Regions from separate parts of the Homo sapiens genome. Here regions 1 and 2 are each linked to region 3. Evidence: promoter capture Hi-C in 16 types of primary human blood cells and fetal thymus (Javierre and others, 2016). All regions are on one chromosome and are shown on one strand. Each heading gives the region's core, a stretch centred on a gene start or on the middle of the fragment in contact. The rest is flanking DNA. Distances are from core to core; before and after follow the strand shown.

Region 1 (4,080 bases), core at 1,184-3,683, 200 kb before region 3:
TACATGTTCCAGATACTAATTTCTAATCAGATATAAGATTTGCAAATATTTTCTCTGATTGTGTAGATTGTTGTTTCACTCTCTCTCTCTTTTTTTTTTTTTAACATAAATTAACCCATTTGTTATAGGCCAGAGATGTCTCAAAGAGTAGAGGAGCATCTACTGGTCTTTCAATTCCTTCAGTCTTCTGATGGCAGACTTCACCATGACAGCCGAAGTGGTGTTGTAGGTCCAGGCACTGCCAGCCACTGTCTTCATGCAGGAATTACAGTGCCTGATTTTCACAGCTCGTCTCTTCATCTTGGTTTTGCCACAGAAAGAGCAAGTGTACTTGGTGTGCTGGCTGATTTCAATTTCCTTCACCATTTTCCAGAGGGAGGCCCCATGGTGGGTCCTGTATTTACTGACTATTCCGACTTTCTTTTTTTTTTTTTTTTCTGAGATTGAGTCTTACTCTGTCGCCCAGGCTGGAGTTCAGTGGCACGATCTCGGCTCACTGCAACCTCTGCATCCCAGGTTCAAGCTATTCTCCTGCCTCTGCCTCCCCAGTAGCTGGGACTACAGGCGTGTGCCATCATGCCTGGCTAATTTTTGTATTTTGATTAGAGATGGGGTTTCGCCATGTTGGCCAGGCTGGTCTCGAGCTCCTGATCTCAAGTGATCCAGCCACCTTGGCCTCCCAAAGTGCTGGGATTACAGACGTGAGCCACCGTGTCCAGCCTCATTCCAACTTTCTTGGTGCATTTGGCCATGTCACCACAAACTAGGTCCAAGCCCAGAGAGGAAGATGTTGTTTCACTCTCTAGATACTGTCCCTTGATGCACAAAAGTTTTTAATGTTGATAAGTCCAATTTATCTATTTTTTGTTGGTGGTGCCTGTGCTTCTGGTGTTATATCCAAGAAACCATTGCTAAATACAGTGTTAAAAAGCTTTCCCCCTATTTTCTTCTAAGAGTTTTATAGTTTTAGTTCTGACAAAAGAGGTCTTTGGCTGGGCGCAGTGACTCATGCCTGTAATCCCAGCACTTTGGGAGGTCGAGGCAGGTGGATCACCTGAGGTCAGGATTTCAAGACCAGCCTGGCCAACACGGTGAAACCCATCTCTACTAAAAATTCAAAATTAGCCGGGTGTGGTGGTGCATGCCTGTAATCCCAGCTACTTGGGAGGCTGAAGCAGGAGAATTGCTTGAACCTCGGAGGTGGAGGTTGCAGTGAGCTGAGATCACACCATGCACTCCAGCCTTGGCAACAAGAGCAAAACCCTGTCTCAAAAAATAATAATAATAATAAATTAATTAAAAATAAATAAAATAGGTCTTTGATACTTTTGGAATTAATTTGTATCTATAGTATAAGGTATATATAAGGCATGGGTCCAACTTCATTCTTTTGCAAGTGAATATTCAGTTTTCCCAGCACCATTTGTTGAAAAGATTGTCCTTTCCCCATTAAATGGTCATGTCACCCTTGTTGGAAATCATTTGCCCATATGCACTAAGGTTTATTTCTGGACTCTATATTCTATTACATTGATCTACATTCTGCCTTTTTGCCAATATCACACCATTTTGATTACTGTAGTTTTGTAATAAGTTTTGAAATCAGAAAGTCTAAGTCTTCCCACTTTGTTCTTTTTCAAGATTGTTTCAGCTCTTCAGGGTCCCTTGAGATTCCATATGAATTTTAGGATAGATTTTTTTTTTCTGCAAAGTCATTGGAATTTTGATAGGGATTGCATTGAATCTGTAATCAGTATGGCTAATATTGATATCTTAATATTAAGTCTTCCAATTCATGAGCACAGATGTCTTTCCATTTATTTATGTCTTCTTAATTTCTTTCAGCAATACATTATAGTTTTCAGTGTATAAGTCTTACCTTCTTGGTTTATTCCTAAGTATTTTAGTCTTTTTGATGTTATTGTAAATAGTATTGTTGTCTTAATCTTTATTTCAGGTTACTAATTGTTAATGTATAGAAATGGAATTGATTTTTGTTTGTTGGTTTTGTGTCCTGCCACTTTGCTGAATTTGTATATTAGTTCTAATGGTGTGTGTGTGTGTGTGTGTGTGTGTGTGTGTGTGTGTAATCTTTAGGGTTTTCCACATGTAAGATCATGTCATCTGCAAACAGATAATTTTACTTCTTCCTTTCCAATGTGGATACTTTTATTTCTTTTTCTTACCTAATTGCTCTGAGCAGAACATCTAATAATATACTGAGTAGAAGTGGCAAAAGTGGGTATCCTTGTCTTGATCCTGATCTTAAAGGAAGACCTTTTATTTTTTTTCCAAGGACTGGCAATAGGCTAAAACTTTTAGTTTTGGTGGAATTTTTGTTTTTTGTTTTGTTTTTTATTTGTTGAGAGAGGGTCAAGTGCTAGAGTGTAGTGGCACGATCTTGGCTCACTGCAACCTCTGCTTCCCAGACTCAAGCTATACTCTCACCTCAGCCTCCCGAGTAGCTAGGACTACAGGTGCATGCCACCAGGCCATGCTAATTTTTGTAGTTTTTGTAGAGATGAGGTTTCGCCATACTGCCCAGGCTGGTCTCGAACTCCTGGGCCCAAGTGATCCTCCAGCCTCGGCCTCCCAAAGTGCTGAGATTACAGGTGTGAGCCCCCACACCTGGCCGAAACTTTTAATTTTTATCATTGAGTTTGGTGTTTGCTGTGGGTTTTTCATATATGGTCTTTATTATGTTGAGGTAGTTTCCTTCTACTCCTAGTTTGTTGAATGTTTTTATTGTATAAGGGTTTTGAATTCTGTCAAATGCTTTTTCTGCATTAACTGAGATGATCCTGTGGGATTTTTTCCCTCTATTTTGTAAATGCGGTGTATTGTATTGATTGATTTTAATATGTTGACTCAAACTTGCATTTCAGGAATATATTTATAATCCTTTTAATATCCTGCGAATTTGGTTTGCTAGTATTTTGTTGAAGATTTATGTGGTGTATTGGTCTGTAGTTTTCTTTTCTTGTAATGTCTTTGTCTAGCTTCGGTATCAGGGTAATGCTGGTCTCCCAGAATAAGTTAGGAAGTATTCCTCCTCTTTGTTTTTCTTTTAAAAAGTTTGAGGAGGACTGATGTTAATTCTTATATAAATATTTGGTAGAACTCATCAGTGAAGCCATCTGGTCCAGGGCTTTTCATTGTTGGGGTATTTTGATTACTAATTCAATTTCCTTACTCCAAATTATGGACCTACTCAGAGTTTCTATTTCTTCATGAGTCAGTTTTGGTAAAATATGTGTTTGTAGGAATTTATCTGTTTGACCTATGTTTCCAATTTGCTAGCAGATAATTGTTCATAGTATTCTCATATAATCTTTTTTATTTCTGTTTGCATCTGCAAAAATGTCCCCACTTTTTTCTGATTTTAGTAATTTGATTTTTCTCTCTTTTTTTCTTAGTCAATCTAGGTAAGGGTTGTCAATTTTGTTGATTTTTTCAAAGGAATAACTTTTGGTTTCATTGACTTCCTTTATTTTTCTGTTCTGTCTTTTATTTATCTCTGCTCTAACCTTTATTATTTTCTTTCTTCTTCTAGCTTTGGTTTGGATTTGCTTTTCTTTTTCTAGTTCCTTATGATGTAAAATCAGTTTTTTGATTTGCAATTTTTCTTTTTTTTCAATGTACAGCAGGTCTTCAAATAATGTTGTTTTATTTAGCATTGTATCATTATTAGGTTGATGAGAAAAACAAATTACTTCCCTGCTGGGACAGTGTCTGTGTGGAGTTTGCATGTTCTTCCCAAGTCTGCGTAGGTTTTCTTTGGGTACTCCAGGTTCCTCCTACATCCCAAAGATGCGCACATTAGGTGAACTGGCATTTCTAAATGGTCCCACAGTCTGAATGAGTGGGGGTGTGCATGTGAGTACACCCCATGATGGGATGGCATCCCATCCAGGGTCAGTTCCCTCTTTGTGCCCTAAGCTTCCAGGATAGGCTCCAACAACCTATGACCCTGAACTGGAATAAGTCAGTTGGAAAATGAATGAATGAATGAATGAATACAAAGTTTATAAAATAAAAATTCATAAAGTCTACAATAATCATACAGACGCACAACATAAG
Region 2 (4,066 bases), core at 1,318-3,817, 170 kb before region 3:
CCACACCTGGCTAATTTTTCAGTTTTTATACTTTGTAGAGATGATGGGTTGTTGCTATATTGCCCAGGTTGATCTTGAACTCCTGGGCTCAAGCGATCCTCTTGCCTCAGTCTCCCAAAGCAGTGGGATTACAGGCATGAGCCAAGCCACTGTGTAAACCCAGCTGCTTAGGTGCTTTTTAAAACATTACAGAAGGGGTGACTAAAAAGGAACCAGATTATGGAGGGCTTGGAGTGCCAGGCTAAGCAGTTTGAACTGTATCCTGTAGGTGATAGGAAATCATTAATGGCTTTTGAACTGGGAGGAGAAGGAGTGGGTAACAAGATGAAAAGGATACAGTTAATGGTAGAGTAGAGTACAGAATGGATTGCATGGAAGAAGCATGGCCATGAAATAGTGCAATGATTGGGGCACAAGAAAAGAAAGTAAGATGTGGGAACCAGGCGTGGTGGGAGGGTCACTTCAGGCCAGAAGTTCAAGTCCAGCAGGGGCAACATAGCAAGACCCTATCTTGGCCAGGTGTGGTGCCTCACACCTGTAACCCCAGCACTTTGGGAGGCTGAGATGGGAGGATTGCTTGAGGCCAGGAGTTCGAGACCAGCCTGGTCCACATAACAAGACCCCCATCTCACATTAATTTAAAAAAAAAAAAAAAGACCTTGTCTCTAAAAAGATTTTTTTTTTTTTAATTAGCTAGGCACAGTGGTGTGAGCCTGTAGTCCCAGCTACTCGAGAGGCTGAGGGGGGAGAATCTTTTGAGCGTAGGAGTTTGAGGTTGCAGTGAGCTAGCCACTCAACTCCAGCCTGGGTGACAGATTGAGACCCTGTCTTTAAAAATAAAAGAAAGAAAGAAAATAAGATGCTTTGTAATAATAACAACAATGCCTAACTCTTACTGAGTGTGTCCCATGTGCCAGGCCCTGCACTAGAGCTTTATTTTTCACCACAATCCTGTAAGATTGTCACTCTTACCCATGTTTCATAAGAGGAGGAGTTCAAAGTCCAGGGTATTCTCTGTGGAGTGCAGAGCTGAGTGGTGGGCCCTGAACATCCACTTAAAGGACAATAACCAGGCATCCGAGGAAAACACTAAAAATGGGGTGAGAGAACTGAACACAAGAATGATGGGTTTCACAGATTCTCGTAGAGCCCATATTTTCTACTGGTGAGTGCGGGTGAGTCTAACTTTGGGTTACTGGAAGGAGACGCAGAGTTGAGGGGTAAGTGGAGAATCAGTAGTTCTGAACTGTGGATAAGGAAATGAGTGGTTAAGAAGTGCTGAGGCCATCCTGATCATAGAATCATCTGATTTTATACCAGAAAGGGGATTAGATTCAGTTTTTTTCATTTCACAGCCCTAGAAACTTAGGCCCTATAAAGGTTAAGTGATTTGCCCACATCGATTTCAAATAGCAAGGGAGAATATATGAGGAACCCATTTCCCCAAACTTAAGTTTCCAAGAGACTCCAGTATCCCAACCCAGATTCTGTACAAAAATAATAAGAAACTGGTACCAATTGCCTCGAAAGTGAAACTCAGTTAAACCTGAGTGGTGCTGAGCAAACTACTACATTAGGCACTCATCTATTATAGAGGATATATTTCAAAGACAGAGTGATGTAATGGAGAAGCATTTCGTAAGGAAACCAAGAGCCCTTTTCTATCTCAGGTTTCTTTTTATTGAAGCTTGAAGCTCAAGTTCATGGCTTCATCAAAAGACGCTTCAAATCCTGAAGTTGAGATAGCTCTCACCTGGAGCCCGTGTGTTGTTCTACCCTTTGGCTGGGAACACAGTCACCTGGGAATCATTCCAGCAGGTGGCTTCAAAAGTCCAACCTGCTAGGTTGAAATCTGACACTGACACAGACTCCGGGAGCTGCCGCGGAAAGCTCAACCAGGAACCCGGAAATGCACAAGCCTCTTGATGCATAAAAACAGCTGGGCTCCCTTGGAGACAGAGCGCCATGGGAAACCGGGTCTGCTGCGGAGGAAGCTGGTGAGTAGGCTGGAAGGGCAAAGGGGAACATCTATCTCTGTTGGTGGATGTAGAGGCCCCGAAAATCAGAGGACCTGGAGATAGTTGTCTGCCAGCCTCCCACTGCCACCTTCCTCTGCCTGGTACCTCCTTGTTCCAACACCAGAGCAGCACCTCCTTTCAGGAGGCCTTAGAAGACAGAGCCAAGTGGCTGGGCGCGGTGGCTCACGCCTCTACTCCCAGCACTTTGGGAGGCCGAGGCCGGCGGATCACGAGGTCAGTAGATCGAGACCATCCTAGCCAACATGGTGAAACCCCGTCTCTACTGAAAATACAAAAATTAGCTGGGCATGGTGGCGCGCACCTGTAGTCCCAGCTACTCGGGAGGCTGAGGCAGGAGAATCGCTTGAATCCGGAAGGCGGAGGTTGCAGTGAGCCGAGATCGCGCCACTGCACTCCAGCCTGGCAACAGAGCGAGACTGTCTCAACAACAACAACAACAAAAAAAAACAGAGCCAAGCTAGCTGTCTGCGGAATGGCCAGAGCAGGGCAGGAATATTGAACCGGCATTGTTTTTCTGTGCCCTCTTCCTCCCTTTCCCCTTCTTTCCCTTTCTTCCTGGATGAGAGTAATAATTGTAGCACTTGAGAGCTTTCTATGTGCCAGACATTTTACAGTCTCATTTAATTTTTCCAATACTTTATGAGGTAAATGGTTTTGCCCCTCCTCCTATTTTACAGTCAGCTGAGAAACTGAGGCTCAGAGAAATTAACTAACTTGCCTAAGGTCACATGGCTGGTAAGCAAGTAAACCAAGATTCCAACTGAGGCCCACCTGACTTCAGAGGCCACCTTTTGAACCACTGCATAATATTGCCTCTTAGATCAAGCAAGTCAACTTTGAAGCAATGTTTATTTAAAAGGGCAGAAGTGCCAGGCGTGGTGGCTCACGCCTGTAATCCCAGAACTTTGGGAGGCCGAGGCGGGTGGATCACGAGGTCAGGAGATCGAGACCATCCTGGCTAACACGGTGAAACCCCATCTCTACTGAAAATACAAAAAATTAGCCGGGCGTGGTGGTGGGTGCCTGTAGTCCCAGCTACTCGGGAGGCTGAGTCAGGAGAATCCCTTGAACCCAGGAGACGGAGCTTGCAGTGAGCCGAGATTGCACCACTGCACTCCACCCTGGGTGACAGAGCAAGACTCCGTCTCAAAAATAAAATAAAATAAAATAGAATAAAATAAAATAAAATAAATTAAAGGGCAGAAGTGGTCGGATGCAGTGACTCACACCTGTAATCCTAGCACTTTGGGAGGCTGAGGCAGGCAGATGACTTGAGGCCAGGAGTTCAAGACCAGCCTGGCCAACATGGCAAAACACCATCTCTACTAAAAATACAAAAAAATTAGCCAGGCATGGTGGCACACGCCTGTAATCTGAGCTACTTGAGAAGCTAAGGCACGAGAATCCCTTAAGCTTGGGAGACAGAGGTTGCAGTGAGCTGAGATTGCGCCACTGCAGTCCAGACTGGGCAACAGAGCGAGACTATGTCTTGAAAAAAAAAAAGAAAAGGAGTTTGAGACCAGCCTGGGCAACATAGGGTGGCCCCATCTCTACAAAAAAATTAAAAATTAGCTAGGCGTGGTGGTGCGTGCTTGTAATCCCAGGTACTTGGGAGGCTGAGGCAGGAGGATCACCTGAGCCCTGGGGGTAGAGGCTGCAGTGAACCATGATCACACCACTGCACTCCAGTGTGGGTGACAGAATGAGACCCTGTCTCAAAAATGAAAATAAAAATAAAAGGGCAGAAGTAGGAAAAAGAAGAATATCCATGGAATATCTGAATATGACTTTCACACTTATTTACTATGTGACCATAGGTAATAAGTCCCTTAATTTCTCTGTATCCATCCTCACATGTAAAATGTAGATAATACATCCTACATTGTGTAGATCACAGGCTTATTTTGAAGAGCAAAGGATATAGCGTATGTGAAAACCTCATAATAAATTATCTGTGGGGTTGTTACTATTCTTTCCCAGAATTTTCATCACTGCCATGCCGTAAATTCCTGGTCCTGGTTTTATTC
Region 3 (4,426 bases), core at 1,927-4,426:
TTCCCTGCTGGATGGGGCCTATAGCTATACTTAGTATATGCCTAAACATGGTAATTGGATAGTAAATGGTTTTCTAGTTCCATTGCTGTATATTTGCCTAAATGGACTTGTGTTCAAATTATTTCTTCAATTGTCATAGATAATCCTGTACCAAATGGGGAAGAATTAGGAAATAATCATGTTGTCTAATGGTACTCTGGATTCAGGGCAGCAACTGCCATTTAAATGTTGTCTTGTTCATTTCTAAATCTGTTCATGAAGTTTAGGTTTTCCCTGAAACTAAGTTGAATTATTTCCAAAATGAAACAGGCTTCTCAGGGACATATCCACTTCTTCCCAGTCTGCCTTTGGATTAAAGCACCAAGCAGAGACCACATTAATTCCCTTTGCTATACTGTGATCCTTAGTATGTTAATTCTTAAGAAACCAACATATCACTGAAAGAAGGCTGGCAGAACGCAAGTGCATTTTTTCACTGTGGGAAGAAAGATCAAGTGACGTATTATTTTTTCCTGGTTGTCACTTAATGGGCTGAGTAAAAAGCTTGAAAACTCAGACTTTCGGTCTTGGTTCTGCCACTCATTGGTTATGAGGAGGCCCAGAGCAGGTAAGTTCACCTTCCTGGCCTTACTTTCCTGATGTGTAATACGGAATTACTTCACAGTAGCATGACAGTATAAGACACCAGCAGTAGATACAACTATGATGACATTCCATGAGTTGGTATTTTTAGTTCTAACTGCTAAATTTGTTCTCTTTACGGGACAGATTTCTAATAAAGTGCTTGGTCTTAAAATACATGGTTGGACAGAGGTGCCCTATCCCTTAACTATGAGCAGGTGCTACCTTTTGGGATATTTATTTTAAATTTTAATACTTTGGTACTCAATTGTCAGTGTTCCATGGTGTGTATTTTTATTTTTGGGATTAGTGGGGGTCTAAAGGGAGAAGAATAGTCTCTAATTACTACCTCTTAACCTAAAGCAATTATTTTGTTCCTGGAGCAAGTTAAATCTTTGTTGGAAGGAGCTTTGGCCATATATTTTTTAGCATGCATTGTTTCTGTGCCCTGAAAGTACCTGAAAGGTTTTAAGCACAGACTCAGGAAAATGTGCCAGTAGAACAGGCCATCTCCAGGAAATTGGCTCTATTTGGGTCCTGACCTTCCCTTCCTCCCAAGTTAGCAGGCTTGTTCTTTCGCAAGGAATACACATCTTGCCTTTTTTTTTTTTTTTTTGCCATGTTTTCCTTTTCTTGGTCATGTATAAGCAATAAAGCTGTTTTTTGTTCTTCATCTTTCTTAACCCCAAATTTTCTTCTATGCCTTAGGCTTCGATGGTTCTTCCAACCCCCTTAATATGGCTTAGGGTGGTTTTTCAAAACCTACAATCCCCCATTTGCACTACTGGCCATGGAACATTTATTTCTAGTGTTCCTGCCAATCAGAGATCTCTATATTAAATTCTAAAATGGGATTAAAAGAAGAGTTGGAGAATTCACACTTATTGAGTAACTGATGTCATACAACCTGGAATTTCTGAATTCCAAATAAATAAATTTCACTCTTTGAACATTTCATCTTTTACTTTTTAGCACCAACAGACTTGATAACAGCCTGATGCTGATCTGACAATGGGTTGATAGCCTTCCCCCACTGACCCTTAAATCTGCTTAGTAACAAGTCCTTTGCTTCTGTCATTCTCCTGGGGGATGGCCTACTGCCCTCCTTTCTGTACAATCTGGGCAAACCGACTGGTGATGGCAAGAGTGGTGTCAATGAAGCGGTCTACACAGCTGGAGAGACAATTTTCAGTGCGAGAGTCTAGGCGATTCCCTGGCTTCTCCACACATTTATCCCAACATAACTCCATGAAGTGATGCACCTAAAAGGAAAGAAAAATAGTAACCATTGGGGTCTGCAGATAGGCCTAACTCTTGTTTATTAACTTCTCACTTTTTGACACCTGACAAAACCATTCTTTAAATCAACCACGGAGTCACTTTGGGCTCTTCTCTTTCTTCATTTCCTAATTAGTCACCAATATTGATCCAGATCCTCGTCCCTACAGATTGTACATTCTCAGGTAGGACTAATAACCTTTTATATTCCCCAAAGTAGCTAGCACCATTGTGAACCAACTAGGGAACCAATTAATTTTCCCAAACTATTGCACTCATTTTATTCCAAACCTATCCCCTAGACAAGGTAATTCTTCCATTAACCTTTTGGGGGTTATGGATCCACTCCCCAGAAAAATGCACATACAGGCACAGAAATTATGTGCACTGTCATTAGAATGTTCAGGGCCCAAAGATTTCTAGCCAGGGTTCTTGCTGGTCATCCGAGCACCCTCTTCCTCCCACCCAAAAGGAAAAAACCATTTTACCAAGAGCTTACTATTTGTGAGGCTGGGTACTAAGAAATCAGTTCTCTCTAAGGTCCTCAAGGATAGCTGTCATCACCTCCCATTTAAGAGGCGTGATTATGTAGTCCAAGGTCATGTAGCCAGCAAGAAGTCAGGCCGCGTTAGAACCATGTCCGAAGGGCTCCAAACCCTTGTTCTACATCCATAGTCTACAGCGACTACTTCAGAGTCCACCTTCCTCCGATAATGTTCTAGTCGTTTTCAAATACATTGTCGCATATGATCCTCACAATCCAGTGAGGCAGTGGGGTGACGGCGACACCAAAACCCACAGTGGATGAGTATCTTTTCTACGGGCACGTGGCCTGCAAGGAGCAGAGGGAGGATGAGAACCCAGATCTTTCGAATGCCAGCCCAGTCATGTCGCCGGCTAACTAGTCTCCCGTACCCTTGCGTCGCCCAAATCTTCCCTGTTTTACACCTTTTCTTTTCTCCACGCTACGCTTATATACCTGGCACCTGAGCACTACCGGTCACCAGGGACAGGAGAGCCATAACTTTGTCTTTCGTGAGGGGAATGGGATGCAGCCGGGATCGAGCACCAGTGAGCCGCCAGTGTACAGACCTCCGAGCGTGCCCAGGACCACCAAGGAAGGTGAAACTTCCTTTCCCTTCACCCTCCCCGTCCCCGCACCTGTGCAGTAAACTGCGCCTTCTGCTGCTCGGCGGCCACCAGGCGCTGCAACTCCGCTTCATCGGCTTCGCCCAGCTCCGCCATTGTTCGCCTCAGGCTCGCCACCTTCCGACAGCTGTGTTTGCGCATGCGCGACGGGTGTGCACCGCCTCTCGACTTCCGGTTCACCCAGCATTTCCTCTTCCCTGTTTTCTTTCGTCGTCGTGGGTGGGAATTGTCGCCTAAGTGGTTCCGGGTTGGTGGATGACCTTGAGCCCTCAGGAACGAGATGGCGGTTCTCTGGAGGCTGAGTGCCGTTTGCGGTGCCCTAGGAGGCCGAGGTGAGGGGTCTTCCCACCCTGAGGTGCTTAGCGTAGCCTCCAGCCAGGGAAGGGGATGGAAGTGAGGACTCATCTGCCGGGTGGGAGATCTCTTGAGGAGAAGAAAATACCGAAATCACAGCAATGACCACTGTAGTCTAGGGGTCCAGATGTTTACCCGAAGGTATATTTCACTTGCTGTGAGCTGACGAGTTGAGGGAATAATCAGAAAGAGAGCTCCCTCTGGAAGTCGCAGTCCTGATGAGGCTAATCCACATAGCAGTTCTGTTTTCTCCCCGTTCACTGTCCCTAGAATGCTCCCCACTCGCTCCCACCCTGAGTCGGGAAAGAGGGTTAGGAGCTTGCCCATTTCTTCTGGAGTTGGTGTGTTTGGATGTGGGAGTGGAGGGGGGATCAGTTCGAAAATCATTTAACCTGGGCATTTGTGTTACCTCAGGTACTGTAGTAATGCTAGGATACAAATGTGAAGAAAACGTAGTTCCCGCCCTCAACGAGCTTTCATTCTGATGAGGAAAACACTGTCATAGTAGTCCGGGCAAGATGAGGTCCTGAACTAGGAAAGTAGCACAAAGAAAAGAAGATTGTCTCAAGAACTGTTAAAGAGATACGCCAATAGGATTTGGCGATTGAATTTAGGGGAAAAGTCTCTCATGATTTCCAGATTACTGAGTTAGGTTAAAGAATGCCTGAGGTGTCATTAAATAAAGTAGGGAACATGCAGATGTTCCCTGGTCTTAACTTCACAGTAACCCCAGTGAAATAGATGCTATCTTCATTTTACAAATAAGATGTTATCCCCTATTTATTGTTAAGTAGCTTACCTATGGTCATTTAGAAAGTTTGTCAGTCCTGTTAAAGGAGAGGTTCTTATGATCATCCTAATGACTCTTTCCTCAGCTCTGTTGCTTCGAACTCCAGTGGTCAGACCTGCTCATATCTCAGCATTTCTTCAGGACCGACCTATCCCAGAATGGTGTGGAGTGCAGCACATACACTTGTCACCGAGCCACCATTGTATGTTCTCTCCATCGCTGCTGCTTTCTGGG

Evidence for each region. The method cuts DNA at HindIII sites, captures the fragments that hold promoters and counts their contacts. A CHiCAGO score of 5 or more calls a contact.
Region 1: a contact is called between a fragment that was not itself captured here and the fragment with the promoter of TIMM8B in region 3, in 1 of 17 cell types (neutrophils). The highest score is 6.0, in neutrophils.
Region 2: a contact is called between a fragment that was not itself captured here and the fragment with the promoter of TIMM8B in region 3, in 1 of 17 cell types (neutrophils). The highest score is 5.2, in neutrophils.

The regions. Positions count from the first base shown.
Region 1 is chr11:111,889,040-111,893,119 of GRCh38, forward strand. It overlaps the pseudogene RPL37AP8. Among named protein-coding and RNA genes, the nearest start is that of CFAP68, 12 kb to the left of the region's middle. The HindIII fragment of the contact is 3,008 bases long and covers 930-3,937 here.
Region 2 is chr11:111,917,008-111,921,073 of GRCh38, forward strand. C11orf52 (chromosome 11 open reading frame 52) reads left to right here and starts at 1,906. Exons shown (of 4, transcript NM_080659.3): 1 at 1,906-1,997. The coding sequence starts at 1,966. It overlaps HSPB2-C11orf52 (HSPB2-C11orf52 readthrough (NMD candidate)), which reads left to right. Exons shown (of 5, transcript NR_037651.1): 2 at 1,671-1,997. It also overlaps a transcript of CRYAB not described here. RefSeq lists an enhancer at 1,738-2,032. The HindIII fragment of the contact is 1,765 bases long and covers 1,686-3,450 here.
Region 3 is chr11:112,083,580-112,088,005 of GRCh38, forward strand. TIMM8B (translocase of inner mitochondrial membrane 8 homolog B) reads right to left here and starts at 3,177. Exons shown (of 2, transcript NM_012459.4): 1 at 3,061-3,177; 2 at 1,221-1,883. The coding sequence starts at 3,144. The coding sequence ends at 1,716. It overlaps SDHD (succinate dehydrogenase complex subunit D), which reads left to right and starts at 3,294. Exons shown (of 4, transcript NM_003002.4): 1 at 3,294-3,380; 2 at 4,278-4,394. The coding sequence starts at 3,329. NKAPD1 (NKAP domain containing 1) reads left to right here. Exons shown (of 6, transcript NM_018195.4): 6 at 1-1,571. RefSeq lists enhancers at 2,732-3,931, 3,295-3,564, 4,258-4,426. The HindIII fragment of the contact is 12,905 bases long and covers 542-4,426 here.